Regions from separate parts of the Homo sapiens genome. Here all the other regions are linked to region 1. Evidence: promoter capture Hi-C in human tissues and cell types (Jung and others, 2019). All regions are on one chromosome and are shown on one strand. The core of a region is centred on a gene start or on the middle of the fragment in contact, and the rest is flanking DNA. Distances in the headings are between cores, read along the strand shown.

What was found. Contacts are between HindIII fragments. The study calls those that stand out against the background at their distance.
Region 2: a contact is called between the fragment with the promoter of RANBP6 here and the fragment with the promoter of MLANA in region 1, in 1 of the 25 tissues and cell types used here (adrenal gland).
Region 3: a fragment that was not itself captured here is called in contact with the fragment with the promoter of MLANA in region 1 in 7 of the 25 tissues and cell types used here (dorsolateral prefrontal cortex, lymphoblastoid cells, mesenchymal stem cells and 4 more).
Region 4: a fragment that was not itself captured here is called in contact with the fragment with the promoter of MLANA in region 1 in 3 of the 25 tissues and cell types used here (mesenchymal stem cells, mesendoderm cells and spleen).

The regions. Positions count from the first base shown.
Region 1 is chr9:5,888,638-5,894,996 of GRCh38, forward strand. MLANA (melan-A) reads left to right here and starts at 2,252. Exons shown (of 5, transcript NM_005511.2): 1 at 2,252-2,299; 2 at 3,813-3,914. The coding sequence starts at 3,838. It overlaps LOC124902341 (small nucleolar RNA U13), which reads left to right and starts at 1,513; the gene lies at 1,513-1,619. It also overlaps a transcript of BRD10 not described here. The HindIII fragment of the contact is 14,558 bases long and covers 1-5,204 here.
Region 2 is chr9:6,012,387-6,018,745 of GRCh38, forward strand. It overlaps RANBP6 (RAN binding protein 6), which reads right to left and starts at 3,238. Exons shown (of 1, transcript NM_012416.4): 1 at 1-3,238. The coding sequence starts at 3,221. RefSeq lists an enhancer at 3,057-3,116. The HindIII fragment of the contact is 3,814 bases long and covers 2,850-6,359 here.
Region 3 is chr9:5,992,130-5,998,488 of GRCh38, forward strand. The region is part of intron 1 of BRD10 (bromodomain containing 10); the gene reads right to left. Among named protein-coding and RNA genes, the nearest start is that of MIR4665, 13 kb to the right of the region's middle. The HindIII fragment of the contact is 6,479 bases long and covers 583-6,359 here.
Region 4 is chr9:5,956,674-5,963,032 of GRCh38, forward strand. All of the region lies in intron 3 of BRD10 (bromodomain containing 10), which reads right to left. Among named protein-coding and RNA genes, the nearest start is that of MIR4665, 48 kb to the right of the region's middle. The HindIII fragment of the contact is 5,201 bases long and covers 1-5,006 here.

The DNA of each region.
Region 1 (6,359 bases), core at 1,002-3,501:
AGAGCCTGGAAGATGAGGAGCTGGCCACTGGAAGTTGACAACGACCAGTTGAGAACAATCATCGAAGCTGATCCTCTTTCAACTACACTAGAAATTGCCGAAGAACTCAACGTCGATCATTCTACAGTTGTTCAGCATTTGAAGCAAATTGGAAATGTGAAAAAGCTCATTTAGTGGTTGCTTCATGAGCTGAGTGAAAATTTAAAAAACGGTCTTTTTGAAATGTTGTCTTATCTTATTCTACACAACAACAAGGAAGAATTTCTCAATTGAGTTGTGATGTACAATGAAAAGTGGATTTTATATGATAACTGGCAATGACCAGCTCAGTGGCTGGTCTGAGAAGAAGCTCCAAAGCACTTCCCAAAGCCAAACTTGCACCGAAAAAAGGTCATGGTCACTGTTTGGTGGTCTCTGCTGGTCTGATCCACTACATCTTTCTGAATCCCGGTGAAACCATTATATCTGAGAAGTATGCTCAGCAAATCAATGAGTTGCACCGAATAGTACAACACCTGCAGCTGGCATTAATCAACAGAAAAAGCCCAATTGTCCATGACAGCACCTAACCACATGTCACACAACCAATGCTTCAAAAGTTGGAATAAATTGGGCTACGAACTTTTGCCTCATCTGCCATATTCACCTGACCTCTCATCAACCGACTACCACTTCTTCAATCATCTTAACAACTTTTTGCAGGGAAAATCCTTCCACAACCAGCAGGATGCAGAAAATGCTTTCCAAGAGTTCATCGAATCTTGAAGCATGAATGTGTATGCTACAGGAATAAACAAACTTATTTTTCATTGGCAAAAATGTCTTCATTGCAATGGTTCCTATTTTGATTAATAAAGATGTGTTTGAGGCTGGGCGCGGTGGCTCATGCCTGTAATCCCAGCACTTTGGGAGGCTGAGGCAGGTGGATCATGAGGTCAGGAGATCGAGACCATCCTGGCCAACATGGTGAAACCCTGTCTCTACTAAAAATACAAAAATTTGCCAGGTGTGGTGGCGTGCACCTGTAGTCCCAGCTACTCAGGAGGCTGAGGCAGGAGAATTGCTTGAACCTGGGAGGCAGAGGTTGTAGTGAGCTGAGATCCTGCCACTGCACTCCAGCCTGGGCGACAGAGTGAGTCTCCATCTCAGAAAAAAAAAATGTGTTTGAGCCTAGTTATAATGATTTAAAATTCATGGTCCGACACCGCAATTACTTTTGCACCAACCTAATTGATGTCTAAGTAGGTCATATTCTACCTGCAAAAAGAAAATTTCATCTATCCCTTTCACATAGATGGAAACCCACTATCTCCAGTGGACAGTTAACACCAAAGGCATCACAGAGAACTCATGGAGCTCAGCTGAGGAGGTTTCAGGGATTTTTCTATTTCCTTTTCTTGATTATGAGAGTCTGGGACTAGATGCTCTCCAGACCTGTGCCTAAAGACTCTTCAACCCTTTGAGATGGAGATGAGGGAGGGAATAGGGAACCCAGTTTAGTTTGGATTTCAGATCCTTTTGTGGGTCATAAGCGTGATGATTGGGTTTCCATGTTCACGTGTGAGATATGCCTCCCTCAAACCTTGTTACAATGACATGGGCACCTTACCTATCTGACATGAGAAAAACAAATGTGGATTTCAGATAAACAAAAAATAACTCTTTTAGTGTATATGTCCCATAGAATATGTGGACATATTTATCCTAAAAATATTGTATGGGACATAGTTGTATTAAGAAACTGTTCATTGTTTATCTGAAGTTCAAATTTAACTGGGCATCCTCCTCAGCTGAGCTCCATGAGTTCTCTGTGATGCCTTTGGTGTTAACTGTCCACTGGAGATAGTGGGTTTCCATCTATGTGAAAGGGATAGATGAAATTTTCTTTTTGCAGGTAGAATATGACCTACTTAGACATCAATTAGGTTGGTGCAAAAGTAATTGTGGTGTCGGACCATGAATTTTAAATCATTATAACTAGGCTCATGTCATATTTTATGTGACATGGCAATCCTATGGAGGAGGGACCAACATTTAAAATAAATGGCTTCCCTAGGATAGAGCACTGGGACTGGGGAAAACAGAGGCCACAGTCAGCTGTGACTTTTTGAAGGAAGGAATAAAGTTGGTTTCTTTCATGCCAATTTAGCAATTACAGACGACCCCGTCAGAAATCTAAACCCGTGACTATCATGGGACTCAAAACCAGGAAAAAAAATAAGTCAAAACGATTAAGAGCCAGAGAAGCAGTCTTCATACACGCGGCCAGCCAGCAGACAGAGGACTCTCATTAAGGAAGGTAAGAGCGTTGCCTTCTCGCCATAATCATAGTCCTCTTCTCCCAGAATAGGATTTGGGAAATTCTGGCTAAGTCCTCTGCCTACCCTCATTGCCCCGCTGATGTGTGACATCAACAGAATTTCTCCGCAACGTTTGTCAGTCTCCAACCTCAGAGGGCTCACAAAGCCTCCTCCTGAATCCTCTCTCAGTCCTCCAACACTACCAAGAAGAAAAGCAATTATTCAGGATGGCATCTTGCTGGGGAGAAGCAGCCTCCCTGAGGTAGATGTGTTCTCCTGTCACTTAAAGAACCACTTCTCCTGGTCTGAGTAGTAAGAGGCGCATTTGCTGTTGCTGCACCATTTGCCAAGGCTCTGAGTTTGAGGTATGGGATGTATTAAAACAATTTAATGAAGAATTAAGATTCCATTCTGTCATTTTGAACACAGGGTTCAGTCCTATATTATTCACTTGAGAGGACTGGTGAGTTTGACTTTCATTTCTTTTTTACAACTGGGAAGGGCAAATTACACATAAAATGTCCCAGTGGAAAGGGGTCATGTGTCGAAATCCCCACTCTTCTGTCTCACCTCTCCCTGTTGTTTTAAACTGGGGCTCATTAATATAATTCTATGGGGATCACACCTTTGAAATTCATGAGGACAGTAAGAGAGCAGAAAAATACACAATAATAAGGAAAGGAGCTTCCATTATTGGTTTTTAATGAGCGTACTTGAATTACGGCCACTGCAGTTTATGGATATTTTTTGTTGTTCATTTGTATGTGTTATAGTTAGAAAAAAAAAGAATCCTAGCCAAGGGACTTGAACCAGAGAGAAGCAGAAATTGACTTAAGTAGGAAGGGAAACACATTGTTAGATAAAGTCAGGTCCTGGGCTTCCTCGGCTTGTTTTGGGTGGAGTGCCTGGGGACAGGCTGAAGCCCCTGTGTGGGGTGGTTTCCTTTGCTGAAAAGCTGGGCTGGAAGATGTTGTGCTCAGTGCTCAACCTCATGCACCCTCGCGAGGCACAGGCAACGGGTGCTCTGGGAAACACACGTTATGTATCATAGCCTCTGTTTGTCTGTGGGATTGATATCCAACAATAACTTTGGAGAAAAATAACTCCTCTAATTTTGTTAGCCACAGCCCTGGGCCAGGGAAGGTGGAGAATCAGTGAAAATGCATTTTGTTTGTTTCTCTAGAAGTTTATGGTGCAGAGTCAAATTGAAGGCAAATGAGGAATATTTTTTCACCAAATAATAACTCAACTTGCAAGTCTTTTTTGCTTTTGTTTGTAGTTTCTTCTTTGAACTTAATTTTCAGTTAGTAGGAGGGGTTAGAAACCTGAGCTATTGCTAAAGCCCTTGATATGAATGAAAGAAGCAGGTGCAAATCCCCTCACAGAGAGAAACCAAAGGGTCCTGGCTATGGATATTGGTCACCTAGTGAGGATGCTGTTGTGGGTCTTTATGAGATGATGAATAGGGTGGCTTTGGATGCATTAATGATGCCCACATGCTCCTTCTGTTAGGTGTCCTGTGCCCTGACCCTACAAGATGCCAAGAGAAGATGCTCACTTCATCTATGGTTACCCCAAGAAGGGGCACGGCCACTCTTACACCACGGCTGAAGAGTAAGTTCAAAACCAGACCCAGCAGGGCTTCCAGTTTGCCGTTTGCTGACACAGCCTGCTGACTTCCACCAGTACATGCCTGCTCGTAAATCTCCCTAGTGTTTATCTCCCCAGACAGTAACATCCCTGGCAACAAGGGGAGGAGATTCTGTGCTTCTATAAGGGGCTCAGTCAAGCTTCTCTGAGGCCAAACAGGCAGGAAGATGGGAATGGTATAAGGTTGGATCTTGCCATTTTTGGGTGCACTTTTGACTATTGGGTCTTATCTGTAGGTTCCCAAGTGGAAAAACATCTGTTCAGGATCACAATGCCTCTCTCCTCAATCCTTGTTCTGTCTCCTCCACTCAAATTCCTGAAGGTGGTTTGCAGACAGAATAAAAGTGAGTTGCCAAGGAGCCAGTAAGGATGACGGGCAGGTGTGTGTGACTCAGCCCACAGCCAGACTCGAGAGGAAGATGGAGGTCACAGCCTTTGCAGTATAACTTTATCCTAAGGAAAGACATTGGGTTTTATGAGTGAATTAAAAATAAGTATTTATATGATTAAGCATTTCTAAATGCTAAGCATTGTATACTGGCGTGAGACACTGTTTTTATCTTTGAAAAAACTCACAACTTAGTGGGAGAGTTAGGCATGAGATTAATTTCAGCAAATGTAAGTGCGGTAATGAAAACCCAGAGGCTGCAGGGACATACTCTGTATGTGCTGGGAGTGGGAAAGGGACATACTCTGTACGTGCTGGGTGGCAGGGGCAGGGGAGGCCCCACCCTCTGCGTGGGACTCTAACAGGACAACACCCTCTTATGTGGTCTGTCCAGAACTCCCTGTGAACCTGCTCTTTCTTTGGAAAGAGCTGTTGAACAATCTTTGTTAACAGTCAACCGCAGGGACCAGCAAGATGTAAAGCCCAACAAAGGCACTGAGGAAGAGTTCAGGCAGACAGCATTTCCTCAGAAGACCCTGGTATAGGATCCTCTAATATCCCTGGCCAATTGGAGATGAGGGCGGCGGTATCTTCTCAGAAAATGTCCTGACAGCAAAAACATACTCTTTGAGGGAGGGGAGCCCATTGCCCGTGCTATTAGTTAGGGTATCGTTTCAGCTTGTGTATAATCACTCAACAGACTCTTTAAAATATACTTTTATGTCTCGTGTAAAAATTCAAGAGTAAAGAGTTCAAGGCCTGTTCGTTTTCTTCTTGCTGGTTACTCCCTTGGGATGTCACTTTTGTCCCCATGGCTGAAGATGTTGTGCCATCACCTCCACATCTTGCCAACAGAAAGCAGGAGGTGAAGGAGAGGCTAGGACCGTTCCTTTCAAGGGGCACACGTCACTTCTGCTTATTGCTCCACCCCCGCCCCCCGCCCCGTGGCACCCACCCTGGTGGGTATCATTCTTGCTGTGTTGTAAATGAAGAAAGGTTTAGAGAAATTAGGAAATGTGTGGCCAGACATGGTGGCGCTGGGATTTAAATCCAGGTCTGTTTGCCTCCAGAGTCCATGCTCTTAAGTGTTATGCTGCAGGCCAGCAGAGGCAAATATTTGCACAATCCCATCCGACGAGAGGCTAGGGCAGAGGTCAGTATCTCTCAGTGTGAAGCTGGAGGCTGATGCTAGTCAGCTCAGTAGGCCGAAAGTGGAGTTGTCCTTTGCCATGTAGGGCCATCATGCCCAGCTGGGGAACCTCATAGCCAGGTGTACCCACAACCTGAACAAGGTAACTTTCAGGGTCTAGTCAGGAAGAAACCAACTAGATGGTTCAACATAGAGACTTTAATATAAGAAGCTGGTTAAACAGGCATGGGACTGAGACTGAGGAGGCAAAGAAGGCATCGGGGCAACCAAGGCTGTACCCACAGAATGCTGCTTCTACCCCCGTGTCTGGGGTAACAAACGGAAGGGTGAGGCCATCAGGACCTAGAGTTGGGAGGAGGGACGCCACAGAAATGGGACCCAGATCTCTAAGGAGAGATTTTTGTTTGGCTGGTTCTGGTGTCTCAAGAGCTTAGAAGTGAGGGGCATGAATCAAATACTCAGGCCTCTGAGGTCAGCCAGTGCTCTGCTGGGGAGGGGCATAATGAAGCTGGCTCTGACAATGCCGGAAAACGAGCTGGTGCTTGGCATATACAGACAATGTGAGCATTGCTGGGGTGATCCTGACAGGAGCCAGAAGCACACTGGAAGGAGCTGCTCCTTCTTGATGCCCCAGGTTTGTAGGCACCCTCTAGAGTACTCTAATGGGAGCCAGTGGGCAAAGGAGAAGTGGCATTTGCAGAGTCCAGTCCCAGCATCACAGAGCAGAGCATAGAAAGGTAGGTTTGGAGTTGAGGGACAATGGCTTAATAAAGGGCAAAGGGGGTTATGACCACTATCATGTGAAGGAACCCCTTGACTGAAGGCACAAGCTTTCTGTGTCTTGCAACCTGAATGACGTGCATAAGCAGGG
Region 2 (6,359 bases), core at 1,988-4,487, 120 kb after region 1:
CGCACGACATTAGCTAGGCGTTTGGCACAAGGATCCTCATAGTTAATAGTCTCATTAATTTTTCCTTCTGCAATTATACTGATTATTTTGGGAAGATTGGAATTATTTGGACCAATTACAACTGGGTGGTTACTTTCAATTAGGTCACAGAGAAAACTCAAAGTCTGAATAGCTTCCTCTTTATCTTCATGCAGTGGAAGCCATGATAACCAGTGTGGAAGAACTTCATCTACATTTACACAGTTAGGCTTAAACTTCAAAATCTTCCCTATTGCTGAGATACAGTTCTCTGTAGCAATGACATTTTTTTTGGTTTTGGAATTTGCACACTTAATAACTTTTACCAGAAGTGGAACAGCTTCTGAACATAAAGAACGATAATCATCTCCACCAAACTGTGCCATGACACCCAGGCCATAAGCAGCAGCTTGCCTGACTTCAGGGTTGTTATCTCGCATATTTAGTAGCATTGGCCACCGAAAATATTCTACATATTTAAATGAAGTTGGACTGCAGTGCTCTATGATGTCATCAAATATGCACAATCCCCACTGTCTGTCTGGCCATGGCCTACTTGAACAAATTAGATTTACAATTAATGGAAGTAGTTGTTCAAACCATGGTAAAATCTTTTCCTTATAAGTACTAAATAATGAGTGCAAAATATCTGATACTTTGGTCAGAATATAAACATCACATTCATCCTCATCTTGCAGAGACATCTCAACCTGTTGATCATAGTTTTCTTCCTGTCTTTTCACCTGTCTCAATTCTTGGTTTTTAAAGTGCCCTTCAAGTTTTGCTTTCAGTATTCCTCCCAGTTCTTCCAAGTGTTCATCATTAAGGCAACCATCTCCCATAACTTCAATGGACTTTGCAAAAGAATTCATTATTTCTGAGAGCACATCTGTATCTGGTTCAGTACCAATAGCCTTGATTAAGGGGTCACATATGAATTGCCACATCTGTGCAAGATACTCTGGGCCACGAATTCTTGCACATTCCAGGAGAAAAGGCATGGACTCTGCTGCTGCCACTCGAACATTGTCATGGAAATAAAATTTCAGTAAAGGAACCATCAGCTTCACAACTTGTTCTGTATATTCCACAAACCCTTCCCTTAACTCCTTAGCATAGTAAACCAACATTTGGCAAGCAGTTGCTTTTGCTTCAAGTCCTGAAGTTTTAATTCCAAAACTCTGCTGGTCTCCAAGATTTACAAATTGCCAGCCATCATCGTCACTCATATTTTCCACATCCTGTGTGTCTAAGAGAGCAACATCAGGTTTAGCTGAAGCAGTCTTAATAAGAGGCTCGATAACCAGTGGAAGGTACTGTTGAAAATCTTTTCCAAGAATTTTACACATTCTAGCCCATGCTGAAACCATGTAAGAGGTCTGAGGGTCATCATCTTCCATATTATTTAAGTCTGATTGTGTCTTCAACAACAGCTGCATCACATTTGATGCATCTTGCATAAATTTTTCCTTCCCAACAGCAAGACCAATATGGCTAATGCACTCGATAGTTTTTCCTCTCAGAAGCTTGAGTTCCTTCTGAACAGCAAGCTCAACAATGTGCTTTAGTGAGGGCATGAATATATCATAATATGGGACAAATTTTTCTTCTATTGTATCTGCAACTGATGCAATGGTTGTCACAAGTTGTTCCAAAGCCAACTTAGTTCCATTCCGAATCAACTCTTGAAGTTTAATCACCAAGACGGAATGTAGATTTTTCACCATACTATCCACATATAGAACTAGCAATGATTTAGGGCAGTCTTCAATAAAAATAATAAGAGCAGAAGCTGCATGTGATTGCACACGCTGATTACCTTGATTTTCCATGGTACGTAACAGAGCTGCAATCACTGTTTCATGAAATTTCTTTTGGAAATTAGGTGCAAAATCTGTAGCCATCTGTCCAAGTGTAGTACAGGCTGCAGCCCTCACCCTTGGATGAGGATCCTGAAGAAAAAGCAAAACGGAGTTAACTGTTTCATCTAGAATTGATTCCATTTGTTGATGGCATCCTTCTCCAATGGCAGATAAGGCCATTAATCCAGCATGTCGATACTTCCAGTCAGGGCTCTGAAGCATCTGCATGATATGCTCCTTGGTCATTGGTAAAACAACTTTTCCACCAAGCCCACAAGCCAGTCTGTCTAGTGCACTCTCCGCAGCAACTGCATTGCTGTCAAAATCATCTTCTTCCATTTCATCAGCATTTACCCAGTCCTCATCATCTTGTAGATCAACCATCATTGCTAATATATGAGGAACTGCCTGTGCAATAATATTTGTATGTTTTTTCAACATCGGAGTGGCAGTTTCAGACAAGGTCACTATAACTTCGAGGGCCAGCTGGCGCTGCAGATTACTAAGCCTAGAGTCTCCACATAACTTCAAACTCAACTGTAGAGTATCTTCTAAATAAGGACCCAAGTACTTAGGTACGGTATCTGCAATCTCAACAAGGGATTCTAGCACTGAATCATCATCCTGGTAGCATGAGTCATTCACAGCCTGTAAGATTCCAGGAAGCAAGTCTGCAAAGTCTTTGAAAAGAGCAATATTATTCTCATTAGCAAGTACAAATGCAGCTGCAGCTCTAGCGGATAATGTCCTGATTGCTGGATGTTCTTGATCTTGAATACACTGGTCCAACAACCGTTTGATGATATCCAAATCATGCCGCTCTTGGGTCCCAAAAATCCCAGGAAAGTGCCAGAAAACGTGAAGTGCAACTTCCCATAGAACCACATTTTTGGAGTAGATTGAATCAATAAGAAACTTCAGACCTTCCGGCCAGTGGTTAGTGCCATCCTCATCTATCAAATTCCTGGCCAGCACTGCAAAAATATCACAAAGTTTTTTCCTCATGCTAGCATGTGTTTCTAACTTAACAGCCAGAATCAGTTCAATCTTGACATCTCTCTGAACATCAGCAGGCAGATTTGGATAAACCTCCTCAAACCCAGAGGACAAAAGCCGTCGTAGCAGTGCGGCAGCCATTTGTCTCACCTCATAACCTGCTCTTCTATTTCTGACGGCATCTAAGAGGAAGGTAGTCTTACACAGACCTGGGATATTTTCATAGATTTCCTCTGCTTGCCTCCGCACCATACAGCTTGGATTGATCAGGTTCTTCAGAAGCTGGTAAAACTCTTGCTTTTCTGACACGGTCGCCGGCACCCCTGCAGACGCGGTTGCCGCCATTGCGCTCTGTCAAAGCTACCGCGACCGGGAAGGAGGGAGGGGGTCTGCGGCTCGAAGCAGTGACGTAGGCGAGGCGCCGGCGGGGATGGGCGGGGTGCTTCTCCCTCCTCTGCCCAGAAACTCTAGCTGCGCTCTGGCAGGCTGCGAGCTAGGTTTTGGAGAGAGGTGAGAGCCGTGTGGAGGCCAATGGCATCCTCCATTTGTTTTTCAATAAGATAAACGTGCACTTGCAGGCGAGAGAAGAAAAGCATTGATTAGAATGGGATCATGACTTTTTTTTTTTTTGGATACAAGGTCTGGCTGTGTCACCTAGGCTGGAGTATAGCGGCGCGATCCCTGCTCACTGCAGCCTCAACCTCCTGGGCTCAAGCGATCCTCCCCGCCTCAGTTCCCCCAGTAGCTGGGACCACAGGCGCGCGCCACCACGCCCGGCTAATTGTGTTTTTTATAGAGACAGGGTTTCGCCATGTTGCCCAGGCTGGTCTCGAACTCCTGGGCTCAGGTGATCTGCCCGCCTCGGCCTCCCGAAGTACTGGGAATACAGGTGTGAGCCACTGCTTCTGGTCAGATTATGAGTGATTTTTTTCTTTTATTTCTAAACTATATTGTTACTTTGATAATTTTAAAACAATAAGTCTATCTTGAAAACATGCCAAGTGAAAGAAACCAGTCACAACCACATATTGTATGATTCCATTTGTATGAAAGGTACCAAACAGGCAAATTGTATAACAGAAATTAGTGGTTGCCAGAGGTTGGGGGGAGGGGAGGATAGAGAATGACTGCTATCAAATAGGGTGTTTCTTTCTGAGTGATGAAATGTTCTAAAATTAATTGTGATGGTTGCACAATTCTGTGATTATACTAAAAACCATTGAGTTGTTAAATTTAAATTGGTGAATTGTATGGCATATAAATAATACTACAATAAAGCTTTATAAAATAATAAGTGTGATAATAAAATAATAATTACTTCCCCACTACCACATCTAATGCAGTAGAGTGGTAGCTCAAAATCTGGTGTGTGTCAGAATCACCTGGCCTGTTGGTTATAATAAAGAATGGGAAAGACAACTGAGTAAAGTATGGTAGAAAGTGATCTGAACTAATAATCAGAAGACAGACTTGCATCCTGGCCTTGTCACTAAATTAATTTTGTATCCTAGGACAAGTTACTCAAGATTTTCCTTGCATCTTGTCTAAACTGAAATATGAAGGGATGCGGTTAACTAGAATCCTAACTAACCATTAGTGGGAAGCTGCTGAGGTTATTCCAAGAAACAAATGTTGATGAAACTAAATTTGTTTCTTTTTTTTTTTTTTTTTTTTGTGAGATGGAGTCTCGCTCTGTCGCCAGGCTGGAGTGCAGTGGTGCGATCTCAACTCACTGCAACCTCTGCCTCCTGGGTTCAAGCAATTCTCCTGCTTCAGCCTCCTGAGTAGCTGGGACTATGGGCGCATGCCACCACGCCCAGCTAATTTTTGTATTTTAGTAGAGACGGGGTTTCACTATGTTTGGTCAGGATGGTCTCGATCTGTTGACCTCGTGAGAGATCACCCGCCTCGGCCTCCCACAGTACTAGGATTACAGGTGTAAGCAACCGCGCCTGGCCAGTTTGTTTCTTTAATTCAGGCAGGTGTGTCAATCAAAAACAAGTTTCATTCCTATAACAATGATTAGGTCTTACTTTTGTATTAGCACTTGCCACACTCATTTTGACCCTTATACAGAATTGAGAGATTGCTAGGATAGATATAATACTAAATTTAGGTGAGAAGTGGAAACTAAGGGAAGTTACAGGATTTGCCTAGGATGACACACCTGAGTCTCAATTCTACCTCTTCTGAAAGTGACACTGATGCTCTTTTCACCATATTGCTTCCCCATTAACTACTCTTGGTTTTGCAGCATGATCAGAGGCTTCACTTACTGCAAATTCTGTCTTAAACTTTTCCAAGCAGCCTTAATTTTGTTTTTGTAAAGTGCTGCCGCATATACCCACAAAAATTAGAAAGTCGTAGCTTTTACATTAACCAGATGATAGACAAAGTAGGTAGTCTCATAAATTACATTGTAGCCGAGCATGGTGGCTCACACCTGTAATCCCAGCACTTTGGGAGGCTGAGGCAGGCAGATCACGAGATCAAGAGATCAAAACCATTCTGGCCAACACGGTGAAACCCCGTCTCTACTAAAAGTACCAAAATTAGCTGGGCGTGGTGGCACATGCTTGTAGTCCCAGCTACTCGGGAGGCTGAGGCAGGAGAATCGCTTGAACCTGGGAGGCAGAGGTTGCAGTGAGCCGAGATTGCATCACTGCACTCCAGCCTGGCGACACAGCAAGACTCTGTCTCATAAAAAAGACACTGTAATATGAAACAGAGCTATTTTCTAAAATAGAATTTCTCATTCTGTAGACTGAAAACCAACTGCATTAGAATTGCTTGGGATACCTATTTTAAAATATAGATGTTAGGGCCCAAGTTCCTATTAACCCAGAATTCTGGGGGGACTGAGGACTAAGAATGTACAATTTCAACCAGCACATTGGGTTTTTATATAAATACCAACATTTGAGAATCGCTGATAAGATCAATTCTGGTTCTAAGATTATGACTACAGTTGTGCATTCATTGGTTTTCTTTCTTTCTTTGTTTTTTTTTTTTTTTTAGATGGAGTCTCGCTCTGTCACCTAGGCTGGAGGGCAATGGCACGATCTCAGCTCACTGCAACCTCTGCCTCCTGGGTTCAAGCAATTCTCCTGCCTCAGCCTCCTGAGTAGCTGGGATTACAGGCATGCACCACCACACCCAGCTAATTTTTATATTTTTAGTAGACACAGGGTTTCATCATGTTGGCCAGGCCGGTCTCAAACTTCTGACCTCAAGTGATCCACCTGCCTCAGCCTCCTAAAGTACTAGGATTACAGGCATGAGCCACCACACCTGGCCCATTCATTGGTTTTCTTACTGTTCCTTCAAAAAGTCTAACTGGAGGGACTTTGCATTTGCCGTTTCAGGAAATGTTAATAATAATTAATTAATTACTTAATACTATATCCACTAGCATATGAAAGACATTGAAAAAAACCACAGTGATACACCACCACAGACCTACCACAATGCTTTAAAAGTCTG
Region 3 (6,359 bases), core at 2,572-5,071, 110 kb after region 1:
TTTTCATGTCACTTATCACTACACTGCATTATATAATTACTATTTTTTTGGTAATTATCTAACAAAATGAAAGCTCCAGGAGGATAGGAACTTTGTTTTGTTAATGACTGTCATCATGCCCTCAAACTGTGCCCTATATATCTATATGCGCATAGAAAGTATTTGGAAGAACACAAGCCAAGTTATTTATTTTCCATTTTAAATTCACACACATAATTAAGGTTTAAAAATTCCAGTCATCTATATTGTCCATAGTAAAAGAATCCCGATTAAACATGTTACTATCTACTTGAGTTCCATTAATCAGTGAATAAAATAAGATAAAAAAATAAATTTACCTTTCAAATAGGGTTGTCAAATAATCAATGGCCAAATAAATACACTAAAATAGCTCTCCCATTGCAAAAAAACACACTAAAATAGCTCTCCCGTTGCAAAAATTCAAGCTTTTTTTCTGTCTATTAGGGAAATCATTTCATGAAATCTGACAGTAGTTTGAAAATAATAATATGCTGCCATCCATAAGCAAACACTAACCAATAATTATGGTTACTTATTGAGTTTTACGTTTACTTTCTTTCTCCCCCTTTTTTTTTTTTTAACACAAAGCATGTAAAGTCTTTTCTGTGTTAATACATTCCAAATTTCAGAATTCAGAGGCTTGATTCTGTTTAAAATTATTACAATAAGTCTTAACAAGAAAGTGAATTGATATTAAGCTTTACTTATAGTTAACATACAAACTGACACCTACTCCCCTACTAAAAATAGATGTTTGAACACTTTTGCATTATGTGATTTTTCTTTTGCTATCAAAAACAATGTACATGTGTCACCTATAAAAATTCTATCAGCACACTCAAAACTCATGGTTATCTAATCTGTTTAAAAATATTCTAAATGAAGCCAGGCGCAGTGGCTCATGCCTGTAATCCCAGCACTTTGGGAGGCCAAGGCGGGTGGATCAAATGAGGTCAGGAGTTTGAGACCAGCCTGGCCAACATGGTGAAACCCCATCTCTACTAATAATAAAAAATTAGCTGGGCACGGTGGCATGCGTCTGTAGTCCCAGCTACTCAGGAGGCTGAGGCAGGAGACTCACTGGAACCTGGGAGACGGAGGCTGCAGTGAGCCGAGATCTCACCACTGTACTCCAGCCTGGGTGACAGAGTGAGACTCCATTAAAAAAAAAAAAAAAAAAAAAAAACAACTAAATGAAGAGTTTCAATCACTTAGTTCACCTATCCATTTAAAAATATTAAAATGCAACTTTAGCCCTAAGGGTCCTGGAAAGAAATAGATAATATGTAAAAAGATGTGATGTTTATTTAATGAAGGGACTATTTACAAATGTGCAGGCAAGGTTGAGAGAAAATAGGAAGGGATAGTGAAGCACTCCAGTGCTAGCCACAGCAGAGAACTATTTTACCACTCTAAGCCCAATATGGGTAGGAGAGTGAATAGTTACTGGAACCCAGAGAGCGGTGACTGTAGGAGAAGGCCATAACGATGGAGCACAGTTTCTGACAACTTGCAACCCAGCAAAAAGGAAGCTGTAGGAATAAATATGTCTGTCCTCTCTGTCCTCCTGTCAGTCCCTCCTATTGGCTGAACCCAATCAGAAGTCAGAGGTCAAGGCATACCAGTTTGATCCTTATAAATCAGCCTTCTGGGGCACAGAGCACAGTGCACAAGGGTAGAAAATGCATTTACAGGGGCAAATGGAGATTAACAGCACAGCACACCTTAGAAATACTTTCCAAGAACAACTAATTAAATTAGGAAAGACAGAAAATTTTACTGGGGAATTCTGACAAAAAAATTTGCATATTTGATAGATAAGCATCATTCATCTAAGCTTCTGTCTACATTTATGTATCTTTACAAGCTCTGTGCTACAACAGCCATTAAAACCAAGTATCAAAATAAACCTAACTTAAAACAAGCCTTTCAAATAGCTCTACAGCCAAGTACGAAACCAAGATTCTCAAAACTAATGAAGTATCACAATGCCCTCACCAAAAACTTTTTATACCATCAATAATGTTAAAAAATTTTTTAAATATGCTTATTTACTCTCTCATTTTAAGTATCTAGCTTAGCTTATGTTTTATAATATATAAAACATAATAGTAAAGTATCCATATATGATTTATAAATAAATATGCATAATCGAAGGTATATATTCAAAATGTTTGCTGCTTGAGAAGCCAGATCATGAAAGTCTGGAGACCACTGCTCTTATCTGCAGCTATAAGCTACCTCACACACAAAAAGGTTTTCAGGAAAAGAAGTAGTCTTCATACCCACAAAAAAGCACTTATTAAAGACCATTAAACTTACTTTCTACTTGATTTTTACCTTCTATTTTCCCAGTCATTACCTTATTCCCCCTGAATTTCTTTTTCGTCTTCCTTCAGACCTCCAGTCCCTTGTCTGACTCTCATTTGCTGTAACATAATTCAACTTCTTTTAGCTATTCACATAGATAACCAGTTGAGACCCATAATACATGACTAACCTCTTCTCTTATCTCCCTGGACCAATTATATTTCTGTCTCAGGCATGTAGCCTCTCTCTTAAATCTCAGCCAAAGGCCCCTTCACTCCTATACTTCTCCTACTGAGCAGGGTAGAAAAAATAATCCCCTTATAATCTGTTGTCTAACTATAACCTCAGCTGGGCTCAACTGTACCTAATATGACTTCTTTGAAGGTGGTCAACTCCCTCTTTCATTCTCCATAACAGCAACTTCAAATGCTATCATTTTTCTTTTTTTTTTTTTTTGAGACAGAGTTTCGCTCTTGTTGCCCAGGCTGGAGTGCAATGGCACCATCTCGGCTCACTGCAACCTCCGCCTCCCTGGTTCAAGCAATTCTCCTGCCTCAGCCTCCTGAGTAGCTGGGATTACAGGCATATGCCACCACGCCCGGCTAATTTTCAGCATTTTCAATAGAGACGGGGTTTCTCCATGTTGGTCAGGCTGGTCTCGAACTCCTGACCTCAGTTGATCCACCCGCCTTGGCATCCCAAATTGCTGGGATTAGAGGCGTGAGCCACCATGCCGGCCCAAATGCTACCACTATTCAAAAGCTTCATTCCATCACTTTCTCGCAGGTGACTGCCCATAACTTATTTCAGAGAAAACGGCAGTTTTTAAGTAAGAGCTCCATTAACTTCCTGCTTCTCAAAAACCAAAATTATCTAAATCCAGGCCCATCCTTACTTTATGTTTCAGTGAAAAATGTGCCTCCAATCCTCTAATGAAAAATGAATCACTACACAGGTCTTCAGAATTTGTATTTCATTAATTATCTTCTGAGCCTTCAAACTCTCTTTCTCTGTCTGTTAGCTGCTTTAGCATATAAACAAGTCCAAGTTTCCCTGAGGAACATCTAAACTGCTGATCCAATTCATCTTTCATTCACATCTCAATCTATAATGTGGCATCTGCTTGGAGCTACTCCACTGAAATCCCTCTTCCCAGAGATCTCCCAGTTAGGAAATGCAAAGGGTATTTTTCAGTTCTTATTTTAGTCAACCTTTCTATACCCTATCTGGTCACCCTTTGTTAAGAACTTGAATTGGACTTTGCAGAAAGAACAGTTTTAGATAGATAGGAAAGAGTGGAGAGAGAATACTAAATAAAGACAAAAATATTCATTCATATTATTCAAATATATTCATCAAAATATTTACTGAGCCACAGGGATTTAGCAAAGAACACGCTAACAATTTGTACATATGGAATTAAAAGTATAAACATCAAAGATGACTGATACATTCAGGCTGAAACAATGATAACACCACTGACAAAAATGTGAAAAGTCAAAAAGAAAAACAGGAAAACTGGGAAGGAGATTTGGGCTAGAAATATACTCAGTTTTTAACATTTTGAGATAACAATTACACAACCAACTGGAAAAGTTCTATGGACAAAAATATGAAACTAAAACTAAAGGCGGGGGGTTCAAGATACTGATTTAGGAGCCCTTAGTGGTAAGTAAAGCCATTAAACAACAACAGTAAATAAATACATATATAAAAATAAATGTATTTATTCCTCTCCAGAGGAGAAGAATACAAACAAAACCTTCCAAAGCCATTATTCATTTCTGCAACAGCAACAGGTAAATGACATAACGCCCCAAAGAACAACTGAAGACCATGTAACTTGGTTTTTTTTTTTGTTGTTGTTGTTGTTTTTGAGACAACGTCTTACTCTGTCACCCAGGCTGGAGTGCAATGGCACAATCTCAGCTCACTGCAACCTTTGCCTCCTGGGTTCAAGCAATTCTTGTGCCTCAGTCTCCCAAGTAGCTAAGATTACAAGCATATGCCACTATGCCTGGCTAATTTTTGTATGTTTAGTAGAGTTGGGATTTCACAGGGTCTCTCACCACATTGGCCAGGCTGGTCTCAAACTCCCGACCTCAGGTGATCTGCCCACCTCTGCCTCCCAAAGTGCTGGGATTATAGGCATGAGCTACCATGCCCGAGCCATGTAACTAATTTTTAAAAAATCGTTTTGCTTAGAATATATTTATTCTGTTTTTCTGAATTTAGGAAAGGCACAAAGGCAAATGCAAAGTTTTTATTTACAGACAAACAGTATTTGAAAAGTGCCTTATCAACCTTGACAAGTGTGATAAGCATTTTTAGTAAGTTAGGGCTGCTCTGCTGAACATACTACTACTGCTACAGCTATTCCTACTTCTCAGGAGTTCTCAATGCAGGCAGAACAGAAGCTCTCTAGGTCACTAACTCTCATACTGTCTCAATATGCTAATGTTCCCTAGAAGATGCTAAAAATGTAATGAGTCTGCAAAGTACGCAGGTAAATACCTTGGCTTCCTGTCCCTGGCCAACTCTTCTATTTATCTCCTAAGCATTGATGAGGCTTTAAAGTAGCTGATTGTAAATTTAGGACACTTTCAGATTCAGACAATGGCACAAGGAAGAAAGGCAGGAAAGCTAGAGCAAGTCTTAGCGCCTGCCTACCTGAAATAACAGGTCTTAACAAAGAGATATAGGGACTTGGCAAGAGCTAAGGACATAATTAAAATGAGAAGAATGTAGCAAGTGGCTATTACAGTGTCTACAGAAAATAAGTAATGCTATCAACTTTTCATCTTTCACTTCATGAATGAGAAGAATACCACTCTTATTCCCCACAAACTAGTGATTTTTATTGTTTTCTTGCATATTTCTTATGCGAAGTGAACAAAACATGGGTGATGCAAATGTTGCTTCTGCTATACTTATTTAAAAGCCACATATCTAATGGAAAAATAAATACATGAAAAAATGGGTTTTTTTTTTGACAGAGGACTCACTCTACCAAATATATTAAAATAAATTCTAAAGTCACAGTAATAAAGTTTAATATCAGAAGATGAATAGTTAGATCAACAGCACACCAGAGAAAGTTAGATCCAAGTACACCAGAGACATATGATAAAGAAAAATAGATCCAAATACACCAATAATATATCATAAACATGGTAATTCAAAATAATGGAGAAAGTTGATGTTGCGACAACTGGCTGGGTATTTGAGAAAAAAATTAAGCTGGATTTCAACCTCACTTCTTCACCAAAACAAATTTCAGGCAGATCCATCCATCCATTCATTCATTCCTTCATTCAATATTAACTAAGCACTTATAGGTAGTGGGGTAGGTTTGGCAACAACACAGACAACATTCCTGTCTGCTCTGAGCTTACATGGATAGCAAAGAAGATACACAAAAAGTAAGCACACACAATACATAATAAATAAGTTCAAACTATAAGTTACATACTGTACGTTTTGTAAAGGACAGTCAAGAACACTTACTTAAGTGGTAACAATAGAAAGAAATAGGCAAGATTTAAAATATACTTTAGAAGTAGGAAGAATCAATGAAAAATGCTATTTTTTTGGCTAGAGCAATTTGGTGGATGGTCAAATCTCTAAGACTAAACTTAGTAAAAATAAACAAAAAAAAGAAAAGTTCTGTTTTGAACATGTTAAAGTTTGAGATGGCTACTGGACACTCAATTGGATAAAAGAAACTATTAACAGTAGGATTGGCCTCTTAACAGTAGGAGACCTGGAGACTGGTGAAAGAGGGAGATTTTCTCTTGTACTGTTCTATTATTGCCCCAGGATGTACACATTTTAATTAATAAACTATTACGAATATAAACACTAATCACTGGATTGCTAAAAAGTCTACATATATTAGTTACAATTCAACTATTTCCTTTAGATTTCCATAATATGTATACACATAACATTTTAATAATCTATATTGCAAATACTGTCAATCCTACCACCACAGGTATCTAAATGCTCCCTACTCCTTCAAATCTTTT
Region 4 (6,359 bases), core at 1,156-3,655, 68 kb after region 1:
AATCTTTTAATTTTCTTTAAATTCTTTTTACTTACTCCATCTCAGTTCTTCTTATGCATGTCCTCTAAACTACCACTCTACTTTGTACACAAATCAATGAATGTAATACTTAACTTAGAGTACTGTAATTGTCTGTTCTTATGTTTGTCATCCTTACTATACTGTAAATTATTGGTGACAGAAATCACATTATTCACTCTGTATTTACAGCATTTAGCACACATAAGTTCTAAGAAGTGATCCCTAAATACAAGAATCCTACTTTTTTCAGAAATGTCACCAACAGTCTAGGGGGTAGGAAAAGGGATGCAGGTAACTGTTTACAATTCTGAGGGTCCATTTAAGTCTACTTTATAGTGAAGAAAACACTGACAACGATTTTAAATAATTTAAACAATTCACCAAAGAGTTTCAACATGACCTAGTAGTGGTAGTAAGAAGATTAACATTTATTGAGAACCTGCTGTGTGTCAGATACTTAGTAAAGTGGTCTGTATAAATTAACTTATTTATTTCTCAATATAACCCTCCCAGGTAGGTAATAACTCTACTGTAATACTGGATAACTGAAGATCAAAAAGATTAATTAACTCACTCATGTGTCACACAGTAAGTAAGCACCACAGTCAGGGATTCTAACTACAAAGTCTAAGCTCCTTCCATTATGTAATTCTACTGCACAAATATCTTAAGTTACCATTTATTGATTCCTACCATGTGCCAAGCTCCAAGTGACATACTGCGCATTTGTTATTCTAATTAATCTTAACAATACAGCCAAGTAGGTATTACCTCACTTATCACAGATAAAGAAACAGGCTATAAACAGGTAAAGAAACTGATGGAGGAGCTGTAGCTAATATGCACTAGGAGCATACATGTGAAATTAGGTCTGTCTCACTTCAAAGCTGTACTCTTTTTATGGTAAAATACTGCATTCTTTCAAATTTTTGAAAGGGATGTAATCTGCTTCTGTTTGGTTCAGAGCATTCCTTTTTATTAGGGTTGGATGATTTGTACATTTACTATTTTTTAATACCTTCAGTATATATCCTGAAAAAAACAATTTCAGTATAAATTTTCCTGTATTCTTCAGTAAAAACATCAGCACTTCAAAAAAATTAAATATTATTTTAAAAATCGAGCATGAGATACTACAAAATCATGCCTTTATTTGGTAACCTGTTTTTGCTTCAGGACAAAATATATACAGGGCAAGTTACATACTACCAGTGGGCTTCCCTTCCCTTATCACTCAACTTGATCATATCCCAGGCCTTTTACTTCCACTGCCCTAAGTTACTTGGTCATATAAAATAGAATAAAATTCTCAAACCTATAATTATGCTGAAATCAGAAGTCAAATTAAAACATACACAGAATTTCAATACCACTCTTGAGCCTAAAACAGAAAGTGTCAGCCTGTACCTGGAAAATGCATAAGGAAACATTAATAAACCTTAATAATAAACCTTAGTAATTAATGTTACAAAAGTATACCCTAATGAAGCTTTCTAAAACACTATGCTTAGAACAACTTAAGAAAAGAATGCCCAACCTGAGAGGGAAAATTATAACTAAAGATATATTTTATACTGTAACTGAGGAATAAAACTCTAGTTTTCTAGAATCTGGAAATATGCCTTTTATAAAAGAAATGGCATATTTCTTTACATAAGAAGGTGATTATCATCCCCCTTTCAGTTCCCCTTTCTCAGTTTCTTATTCCTCATTCTTTACCCTTCTCCTTCACCTGGTTTTCCTGTCTTCACTCCTCAGACCTCTGGGCTACTCATACTCAGACTTCCACTTTAAGCCAAGTGTGGTGGTGCATGCCTGTGATCCCAGCTCGCCTGTGGTCCCAGCTACTTGGGAGGCGGAGGTGAGAGGATGGCTTGCGCCCCGGAGTTCGAGGCCAGGTGGGCAACATAGCGAGATCCTGTCTCTCAGGGAGGGATAGGAGGAAGAAAAAGAACAGAAAAAAAAAGGTACTTCAATGCTTTCCTAGATTTAGCCTTTCCATGTTTTAAAATTATCCCAACACATTCACTCCTCCCTCTGTACTTTCGCCTTAGGAACCTTAATAAATAAATGAATACTAAGATATTAATCATTGTTGCAAGTAAAAACTCAAGGGTATTTGTATTATTAAACAGTGAATTTGCAAAGTGCCTGGGATGTAAAGTCACAGAACTAGAGCCTAAACTTGTCTTTTATTTACTAAATGTGCATGTCTTGAGCTAACTATATTCTAGGAGTTTCTGGAGTGTTCTATCTCAAGTAAGCAATTTGACCTTAACAAAACAGTTTATTTTCCTTTTATTCTTCTTACCTATAAGCAAATTTCTTATCATACTGGTAATTCTTTAACGCTATCACATAATTCAGTAACTCCTGAACACCCATTTCTTTTTACCCTTTAACTTAGAATATTGAATCAGTTGCCAAATTCTGCTACTTATTGCAGCATCTCTCTCAAAATAGAATTTTCTTCTATCATTGTGATAGAAAAGTCACATAATCAATCCTTACCTGGATTTAGAATTGTCTCGTTATAGTTATCATCTACCCCTTCATCTTACCCCTGCCAGCTTCTTTTCATAGCTCTTTAATGGTATCCTAATTATCTTGCAAGATCCTTTCTCCTAATCCTGTCACTTACTAGCTCTAGCTGTGTGACTTTGGACAAATAAATCTCCATCTCAATTTTTAAAAACCTCTAAAATCTGTAATAATGGGGAATAATAGTAATATTTATTTTTTGAAGTCTTCATGAAGATTAAATGAGATAGCATGTATAAAGGCTTAGAACAGTGCCTGGCATACAATAAGCACTCAATGAGTACTCGGTTTTTTAGACAAAAAGTAGAAGGATTGAAAAAATAAAAGGACATGGAGTATAGTAAATCCTTTCACTCTCTTTATATTTTGAAATCTTCAGCTGGTATGCTAAAAGTTTTCTCCGTAAGACACATGTAGTTAGGGTCTCTAGTGCTATCACTACAGAACTATATAATAACCTTTTCACAGATACGGGCCTGGAAATAATCAAACACTGTAGATTACATTACCTTCTCAGTCATTTCCTATAAAGCAGCTCATTACTTTTTACACATCTGATATATCTTATTTCAAGCTCAATTCCTTGCAATGGAATCTTGATTCAATTATTTAACATAGTACCACATGCTTAGAAAGATCACCCAAAAATGACACCCTTCTATCATTCGAACAGCTTCTAAAACCTCAACTTTTCCACAAAAGTTTTCTTTAATTGTGCTTCTTCCAGTGACACCTCACTTAATTATACCTCTATGCTTTTGCTCGTGTTATTCAACATTTTCCACCTATCCAATTCCCATTATTCTTCAAAGTCCTTCATCCCTTGTAAAACCTTCCCAGACTAGCACAGCACATTGATTTTTTCTCTACTTGACCTTTTATTGTGTTGTCTTTATCTGTACTTAACTATTATTCACTTGAGGTCACTGACCACTTTTTAACTTAGTTTTTTCACCTATAAGAGAATAAGACCACTTGTCTTATTCATTTTAGTCAGTTTAGAGGTGCTACCATAAAGTGATTTGGGTGAAAATAATAACTACTGGCCGGGCGTGCTGCCTCACGCCTGTAATCCCAGCACTTTGGGAGGCCGAGGTGGGCCGATCACCTGAGGTCAGGAGTTCGAGACCAGCCTGGCCAACATGGTGAAATCTCATCTCTACTAAAAATACAAAAATTAGCCGGACATGGTGGCACATGCCTGTAGTCCCAGCTACTTGGGAGGCTGAGGCAGGAGAATTGCTTGAACCCAGGAGGTGGAGGTTGCAGTGAGCAGAGAATGCGCCAATGCACTCCAGCCTGGGCAACAAGAGTGAGACTCTGTCTCAAAAAAAAAAAAAAAGAAAAGAAAAGACAATAATGACTATTTGAGGGGGGAAAACTTTCCAAACAGAACTGGTTGAAAGTATCTTAAAACACCATAAGCTTTTTGTAACTGTTAATGCGTCTGTAATCTTTTTTGTGTTTTTTCAGATTTTATAAAAAGTCCCCTAATTTTTAGAATTTCTAATTCATTTTCGCCAACTCTACTTGCTCTACACAATCTATAATAGTATATTATTGAAAACAACCAAAATGTCCAATAAGGAGACTGGTTAAATTAACTGCAAAATACAACAGGATCCTACACAGCCATTTAAAATGATGCTACAGGGACCTATTTATTGCCCAAAGATGTTCATGGTATACTGATACGCAGGGGAAAAAAAGCAGATTGTTAAAATGGTATGTATAGTATAATCCTATTCAAAAATACATAGTCTTTGAAAAAGTGTTGAAAGATACATATTAAGGAGTTAGTTTTAGTTACATCTAGGTGAACCATATTAAATGTGTTCATTTATTTGTTCAGTATATTCCCACACAATGCATCAATCAATCTGCTAAAGTGCCAGGGATGCAAAACCAGAAATAATCCTTCTGTCCCTAAGAATGTTATAGAATAGAGAGGAGACAATCCTCAAAATAACCTAGAAGTAAACGCAACTATAATAAGTATTACGAAGGAGAAGTGTCTGGTGCTATAAGCATGAACAGCAAGGAAAATTTTAACAAGTCACAAGATAATGGGAGGCTTCCTTAAGCAAGTGATAAAAGAATAAACATTTACTAGGTAATGAGGAAAGGGCTATTCTTTTTGCTTGTCTCTATATTCTTTAAAGAAAATGTACTGCTTTTATAATAAGAAAAAACAATGAAAGAAAACCAAATGATCTGAATTTTTTTTGCTCTGAGTTTTTTTTTACTCTTAAATAATTATTTTTAATTTATGCACAGCTAATCTTGCCTGTCTTGCTTAAATGACAAAGTTTTCAGAAACATTTAAATTTTGAAAACAGGTCATCAAGGAAAAATTTCTAATCGCCAGGACATATTTTTCTTTTCTATGATTGAATAAAAACATAGGATCAAGCATGAGATAATGGACATTATATTGTTTCCACTGTCTTCTATTTATTCTATAATGTTTCCAATAGTAAGGAACAGGCCTAAATGAGTAAAAATGAATTCAAAACTTAAAAAGGAGGAAAGAAACCCCAATTCTGAAAAGCAGATTAAAATGCTTAAATATTACCCAAACTGCCTCAAACTGTGCTAAAATTATCAAATCATTTTCAACCAAATTGTCTTTGTGCCTTCTACTAAAAATCACCTGCCGGTCTATCAATTTTGTTGATCCTTTCAAAAAACCAGCTCCTGGATTCATTGATTTTTTGAAGGGTTTTTTGTGTCTCTATTTCCTTCAGTTCTGTTCTGATTTTAGTTATTTCTTGCCTTCTGCTAGCTTTTGAATATGTTTGCTCTTGCTTTTCTAGTTCTTTTAATTGTGATGTTAGGGTGTCAATTTTGGATCTTTCCTGCTTTCTCTTGTGGGCATTTAGTGCTATAAATTTCCCTCTACACACTGCTTTGATAGACCGCTAGCAAGACTAATAAAGAAAAAACGAGAGAAGAATCAAATAGACACAATAAAAAATGATAAAGGGGATATCACCACCGATCCCACAGAAATACAAACTACCATCAGAGAATACTACAAACACCTCTACGCAAATAAACTAGAAAATCTAGAAGAAATGGATAAATTCCTCGACACATACACTCTCCCAAGACTAAACCAGGAAGAAGTTGAATCTCTGAATAGACCAATAACAGGAGCTGAAATTGTGGCAATAATCAATAGTTTACCAACCAAAAAGAGTCCAGGACCAGATGGATTCACAGCCGAATTCTACCAGAGGTACAAGGAAGAACTGGTACCATTCCTTCTGAAACTATTCCAATCAATAGAAAAAGAGGGAATCCTCCCTAACTCATTTTATGAGGCCATCATCATTCTGATACCAAAGCTGGGCAGAGACACAACCAAAAAAGAGAATTTTAGACCAATATCCTTGATGAACATTGATGCAAAAATCCTGAATAAAATACTGGCAAAACGAATCCAGCAGCACATCAAAAAGCTTATCCACCATGATCAAGTGGGCTTCATCCCTGGGATGCAAGGCTGGTTCAATATACGCAAATCAATAAATGTAATCCAGCATATAAACAGAGCCAAAGACAAAAACCACATGATTATCTCAATAGATGCAGAAAAAGCCTTTGACAAAATTCAACAACCCTTCATGCTAAAAACTCTCAAGAAATTAGGTATTGATGGGACGTATTTCAAAATAATAAGAGCTATCTATGACAAACCCACAGCCAATATCATACTGAATGGGCAACAACTGGAAGCATTCCCTTTGAAAACTGGCACAAGACAGGGATGCCCTCTCTCACCACTCCTATTC